Linked DNA regions of Homo sapiens: region 1 is linked to region 2. The links are contacts of gene promoters, found by promoter capture Hi-C in blood cells and fetal thymus (Javierre and others, 2016). All regions are on one chromosome and are shown on one strand. The core of a region is centred on a gene start or on the middle of the fragment in contact, and the rest is flanking DNA. Distances in the headings are between cores, read along the strand shown. Region 1 has its middle 110 kb from the start of CLDN14. Region 2 holds the start of RIPPLY3 (ripply transcriptional repressor 3).

The links. The method cuts DNA at HindIII sites, captures the fragments that hold promoters and counts their contacts. A CHiCAGO score of 5 or more calls a contact.
Region 1: a fragment that was not itself captured here is called in contact with the fragment with the promoter of RIPPLY3 in region 2 in 1 of 17 cell types (naive CD4 T cells); the score reaches 6.5 in naive CD4 T cells.

The regions. Positions count from the first base shown.
Region 1 is chr21:36,583,906-36,587,243 of GRCh38, reverse strand. No RefSeq gene overlaps it. Among named protein-coding and RNA genes, the nearest start is that of CLDN14, 110 kb to the right of the region's middle. The HindIII fragment of the contact is 957 bases long and covers 1,603-2,559 here.
Region 2 is chr21:37,004,725-37,008,284 of GRCh38, reverse strand. It overlaps RIPPLY3 (ripply transcriptional repressor 3), which reads right to left and starts at 1,583. Exons shown (of 4, transcript NM_018962.3): 1 at 1,409-1,583; 2 at 62-128. The coding sequence starts at 1,512. RefSeq lists a silencer at 1,409-1,518 and an enhancer at 1,742-2,242. The HindIII fragment of the contact is 8,716 bases long and covers 346-3,560 here.

The sequences.
Region 1 (3,338 bases), core at 832-3,331, 420 kb after region 2:
TTAAAAAAAAAGTCAATTTTTCTGATTATAAAAGCATTAAAAATATATGGGACAGGACTACAGCATTAAGCTTGTTGAAGAAGATTTAGAAGAAATATGGAAGAGTAAATCACCATAATCTTGCTACCTAGAACAACTTTTCTGAAAAATGGAAACAAGCTCTCACTATGTTATCCAGGCTGGACTCAAAATCCTGGGCTTAAGCAATCCTCCTGCCTCAGCCTCCTGAGTAGCTGGGACTACAGGAACATGCCACTGCAACTGGCTAGAATAACTTTATTTTTAATTAAGAATAAGTTAAAATAACCACTAACTAAACATTGCCAGTTCAGTTGACCCTCTCTTAGTATATAGATCAGAATGGTTTGTTATTAATATATACATGGTTTATATACAAACAGAGAGAAAGCTGGTCTCTAAAGTTTCTTGAGGACGTTGATGTCTCCTTTCTAGTTTGGCTTACCTATGAATTTCCTTGTTAAACCCTTTTTAAAAATAAATGATATTATGGTAAACTTTATTTTGGTTATTGTTAAGGTAATGCAAAAGTAAGCTGAATGCAATGCACCTATGTCCCAGTTATTCGGGAGGCTGAGGCAGGAGGATCGCCGGAGGCCAGGAGTTCAAGACCAGCCTGAGCAACACAGTAGGACTGCCCCCCCATCTCTCTTTTTTTTTTCCTTTTAAAGTAATGAGGCTTTGGTATATGGCCTATACTGCTAATATAGTTGCAATATTTCAAATAAGGTGCTTATAAGGTGCAGTATTTCCAGAAGAGATCCAAAGTTGCACATAATTGTTGGGGGGAAGGTCTAGGGGAAGAGAAAGAACCCAACTAATAGTCATTCTCCAGCTCGGTCATCTGTTAACCAACAGAGAGAACATTTAAACTTTTGAACTTCAGCTTCCCTTTCTGTAACATGGAAGGGTGGGACACAGCAGTGGTTCTCACCCAGGGAGTCCATTAGAATTGCACTGGAGAGCTTTTGAAAATATGCATGATGGCCAGGCATGGTGGCTCACGCCTGTAATCCCAGCACTTTGGGAAGCCGAGGCAGGTGGATCACCTGAGATCAGGAGTTCGAGACCAGCCTGGCCAACATGGTGAAACCCTGTCTCTACTAAAAATACAAAAAATTAGCGGGACATGGTGGCGCACCTGTCATCCCAGCTACTCGAGAGGCTAAGGCAGGAGAAACGATTGAACCCAGGAGGTGGAGGTTGCAGTGAGCCAAGATCACACCACTGCACTCCAGCCTGGGCAACAAGAGCGAAACTGCGAGAAAAAAAAGAAAAAGAAAGAGAGAGAAAGAGAGAGGGAGGGAGGAAGGAAGGAAGGAAGGAAGGAAGGAAGGAAGGAAGGAAGGAAGGAAGGAAGGAAAAGAAAATATGCACATGTGGTCGCCTCTGGGGCATTTTGTCCCAATGGGCCTCCCGCAATTGAGGTAGGGAAAGGAAGATCTTTGTTACTTTGAAAACGCTCCCCAGACCATGGTAGGTTGAAGGAGACTTGCCCCAGCTTGAGCCAATTGTAAAATTTGCCGGAATTTTGTGAGCTGGTAGCTAAAAGAGTCACTATTTAAAAATTTAAAATCATAAGCTTACAATTAAATAAATTATATTACCACAAAAGTAATAAATACTCAAAACTCATCACTTCCTAGTTGTTTTAATACATTCAACTTCCTAATTGTTTTAGCATTTTTTACTTCCTGATTGTGTTAGTACATTTTACTGGTACCTATGCTCTAGAAGTTGTTTGCACCTATTGTATCTGGAGGGTGGAAATACTATACAATGGTGTGGTGTTTCACATCTCTGCCAATGCTGGCAGCTTGAAATCAGCTACTGTGGGAGTATTTACACCACAGAAATGGGCAGATGCTAGGAATCAGGAGATTTTTCCCTTCTGGTGATCCAGTTTGTGGTTAAACATTCCTCAACATGTTACTGTCCCCGATGTGATGTAGGCTTAATTCAGAAGTGTGATCCTGGGCTCCTTTTAAATAACTTTGATCTGAAGATGAGGCTTCTATGCTTTCACTTGCTGAGATGCTAGCGCCTCCTGGTGTGACTGGTTTTGTGGCTGCAAAGTCTCTTTCTCCAGTTTCTTTTAAAGGAGAGCCATGTTTGCTCTGTTCTTCCTGGCACTGAAGTAGCAGGTGTGTTTGTGCAGGTCTTTAAGGTACCCTTAAAGTAAACAGCCTTGATAAAATCTTTTTTTCCTCTTTTCTTCATTCTTCTGTTACTTGTATTGATCCAGGTCTTTCTACAGGCACAGAGTATGCTGGCTGTGTTTGTACATTTTTGCAAATAGATAATCGTGGAAGTCTATTCTATAGAAACAGCCTTTATGACTATGAACTGTAACCAAGGGGGTGGCAAGCAACTTCCTCTCCTTTGAGATTTTGGTGTATGGAAGGTTTCCACTTAAACTCCTTTCTACAGCGTGGCCTTCTCTTTTGTTGCTGTATTTGGAATGCATACCAGCTGTCACAGGGCAATAATCCCGGAGATGAAATCAATTCTCTTAATGGCCTTTTATGGAAAGTTCAAGCTTGCCTTGGGTTGGTATATTTTTAGCTTCAGGTATATTTTTTGGCGTATTAAGGGAATAAGGCTCCCATGCATGGATTGTGTGTGAACTGTTGAGAAGTTAATTGGTGTTCAAAGTGAGCCCTGTGTGTTGCCAAGGTATTGGGGGTGTCTGGTAAATGGCACACTCTTCCTGCCCAAATTCTGAACCAAATGAAAGGTGAAAAAAGGCATGAGGCCAATGGAGTCGCAAAGACCGTTTTTGTTGTTGTTGTTGTTTTTGAGATGGAGTCTGGCTCTGTCGCCCAGGCTGGAGTGCAGTGGTGTGATCCTGGCTCACTGCAACCTCCGCCTCCCGAATTCAAGCAATTCTCCTGCCTCAGCCTCCTGAGTAGCTGGGATTACAAGTGCCCACCACCATACCTGGCTAATTTTTGTATTTTTAGTAGAAACGGGATTTCACCATGTTGGCCAGGCTGGTCTTGAACTCCTGACCTCAGGAGATCCATCCGCCTTGGCCTCCCAAAGTGCTGGGATTACAGATGTGAACCACTGTGCCTGGCCCAAAGACTGCCTTTATTCCAGCCCAAAGACTACGTTTATAACTGACAGTCTAGGTTGGAGAATGTGGCTTATATCTTTGGGCAAATAAGCTCCCTAATACAGAAGTCCAATTTTGGCGTGGGGGGTGGGTGGGGTGGGCGTGGGGGGTGGGTGGGGTGGGCGTGGGGGGTGGGTGGGGTGGGTGTGGCGGAACTGGACAGACCCCTACTCCACCCCACAGGGATGAGCCCATCCTTGGA
Region 2 (3,560 bases), core at 334-2,833:
TAAAAGACGATGCCACTTTCTGGCTGGAAGGGTTACCTACAACGCCCGCACTGAACCTTACCGGCCTTCCAGTTCTGGTCAGCTCAGCATCTCCAGGTGTCTGGATCCAAGGTCGCCACGGCGCGGGGCTGGAACGGCAAGCGCCAGGAGAGAGTGAACCCTGGGCACTTCTGCTGCCTTCAAACTATGCCATGAGAGCTATTCTTAGTTCCAGTGTCTGCCTGAAAAAGAGGCACCGGACCCCCCAGGAACTTTCCCTGGAGTTCTCAGGGCTGTGGATAAATTACTGTCATTTGTGTTTTTTCTCTCCTGCTACGTCCCCAGTTCTCTGTCTCCAGTTAAGCTTTGAGAAGGGAGGTCCCGAATCTCACACAATTATCAGGGAACCCATTAGTTGAGAGATTTCTCTCCCTGCAAATCCTGGCTGAATTGTTCAATTCGGGGTTCCCCAACTATAGCTGTCTACTTTGTCCCCGGTTAATTTCAATCACACCACCTTGGTCACGGAAGGAGATTGATTCTACAGAGATGATTTTACAGAGTTGTAGGATGAAAAACAAACAAACAAAAAAAGGGGGCTGGGCGCGGTGGCTCACACCTGTAATCCCAGCACTTTGGGAGGCTGAGGTTACTGGATCACTCGAGGTCAGGAGTTCGAGACCAGCCTGGCCAACATGGCGAAACCCAGTCTCTACTAAAAATACAAAAATTAGCCGGGCGTGGTGGCAGGCGCGTGTAATCCCTGCTACTCAGGAGGCTGAGGCAGGAAAATCGCTTGAACCCGGGAGGCGGAGGTTCCCGTGAGCCGAGATCACGCCATTGCACTCCAGCCTGGGCGACACAGTGAGACCCTGTCTCAAAAAAAAAAAAAAAAAAAAAAAAAAGAGGGAATCTTTCTCCTGCCTGGCTACCTGGCCCATCCGGCCTACCCGGTCCCTTCCCTACCTCCCTGGCTAATTTGATTTCCTACAACGTTACTGTCTTTAAAAGGGTTGGTGCCCAGGGACAGCGAACGCCGAGCCCCCAATCCAGGGACAACAGAAACGGCTACCGAGAAAGTAGCAAGGTGAGAGATTGCCTTTGCAAGGCTGGCTTAGGAGCCCGAGACTGCAGTGTCCCCGGCTGGCTAACTGAGATCTCCTCTACACGGAAGCGTCGGCCCCTTTCCTGGCCAGCTACATCCTGGGCCTCCGCACTTCAGAGCTGTGCGTTGGAACCGGAGAACTGAGCGCCCCTCCCGGGAACCCGGCTGCCGGCTCAGGAGCTTGCTTGGCGTCGCCGTCGAGCTCCGGAGCTCCGCTGGGGATCGGGGGTTCAGCAGCGCCCCAGCCTCCCGCTCGCTGCGCTCCCCGCACCGCCACCGCGCACGCCTCTCAGCGCGTCCACCGGGGCGCGGGGCCACCCTCACCTCTCCGGCCCGCGCGGTGGCGGAGGCCTCCAGGGAGCGTCCCCGGGGCAGTGACAGCCGCGCCCCCGCGCCTTCCGGGCTCCGGCCGCCGCTTCGGGCTCCATGGTGCCGGCGGAGCCCGCGCCCCTTGCTGCGGCGCCGGCCTACGAGCGCGCCTAGATCCACTCGGGCTAACGCGCTCACCTACCCGCGCGCCAGGTTTAAAAACGGGGGCGGGGCGGCGCGGGCAAGCGCTGGGAGGGGGCAGGACCCGAGGAGCTCCGTGAGGGGTGCGGAGGGGGCCGCAGGGTACGAAGGAAAAGCCCGGGTCGGAGGAGCGGAGGGGACCAGAGAAGTTCCGGGAGGGGACCAGGGAGCCGGGGATGGGGAGGAGACGAGAAAAGCTCAAGGAGGTGGCGCCGGGTGTCAAGGAGGGGGGTCCGGCAGGCCCGGGCAAGGGTGGGGACGGGACAAAGAAAAGTCGGGGAGGGGGCACCAGAGAAGGGGTGACCAGAGGATGGAGGTACCAGGGATTGGGGCCACGAGCTCGGGCTGGAGACAGCGGGAAGTGACCCAGGAACCCGGGAGAGGAAAGCGAGGCCCGCGGGCTAGGGGCGTTTCCGTCGGGCGCACTCCCTCGGGGACTGGGGGGACCTGCGCTCACCTGCTGGGCTTCCCCTGCCGGATGTGGGATGTGAGGAGTCCCGGCTTCTCCGTCCCTCTGTGGTCCCCGCGGCCTCGGGCTTTGGTCCTGTGCGAGCATCGGATTCCCTGGGTTTCCGGAGAATCTCGCTTCCACCGCCTTAGAGCGGCAGCGGGTCTTCGGGGACATCTACCGAATCCTCGGGTCCGCGTGCACCGGCCTTGCCTTCGGTGCTGGACAGTGGGCTCCCGGACGCCCCGACGCCAGGGCTCGAACCCGTGGCGAAGCGGGTGGGGTGGGGCGCGGCGACCCTTCCAGGAGACAGAAGGCCAGGAATGGAACCGAGCAAGAGGGGTGCTACGAGCGCACCCTTCCCACCGATGGCGGCCTTGGAAAGAATGCGAATTTTTAATAAAGCCTGGAGCGGCGGGCTTCTCCTTCGGTTAGCCCCAGCCAGGCTTAGAAAGGGCCTCCCGACCAGCAGAAGCGACCTTGCCCGACCCTGGGGACACTTCCCCGGGCGTCGCTGGAGCGCCGCTGCCACCATCACCAGCGCACGGCCAGGGTGGGAGAAAGCGGTTTCACACGTAGAGCACTGCGACAGAACACCGAAGGCGCTGGAGGGCCTTCAACTACCCCGGGCTCCTCAGGGGTAGTTACTTTATATAATTTAAGTTACTGTGATGGATGTTAAAAAATCGAAGAACTAGGCCAGGCGCGGTGGTTCTCACCTGTAATCCCAGCACTTTGGGAGACCGAGGCAGGTGGATGGATCACTTGAAGTCAGGAGTTCGAGATCAGTCTGGCCAATATGGTGAAACCCGTCTCTACTAAAAATAAAAAAATTAGCCGGGCGTGGTGGCAGGCTCCTGTAATCCCAGCTACTTGGGAGGCTGAGGCAGGAGAATGGCTTGAATCTGGGAGGCGGAGGTTGCAGTGAGCCGAGAGTGTGCCACTGCACTCCAGCGTGGGAGACAGAGAGAGATTCCCTTTCCAAAAAAAAAAAAAAAAATCGAAGAACTTCCGCAAGGCGCGGTGGTTCATGCCTGTAATCCCAGCACTTTGGGAGGCCCAGGCGGGTGGATCACTTGAGGTCGGGAGTTTGAGACCAGCCTGGCCAACATGATGAAACCCCGTATCCACTAAGAAAAATACAAAAAAATAGCCGGGTGTGGTGGCGGGTGCCTGTAATCCCAGCTACTTGGGAGGCTGAGGCAGGAGAATCGCTTGAACTCGGGAGGCAGAAGTTGCAGTGAGCCGAGATCGCGCCAGTGCACTCTAGCCTGGGCAACAAGAGCCAGACTCTGTCTCAAAAAAAAAAAAAAAAAAAAAATCGAAGAACTTCAGACATTAAAGTGTTTTCACATTTTTTTAATTAAGATTTTGAGCAACAATAATTAAATCTAAATAAAGGCAAACATTTAAGAGGGGGGAATTAATGGGAGGAGGCTAGAAGGAGGCAAAGAACATTAGTGGGCCATATTGCAACAATAAGGTACCATATTTAATCTAAATGCAGAATGGGGTTTT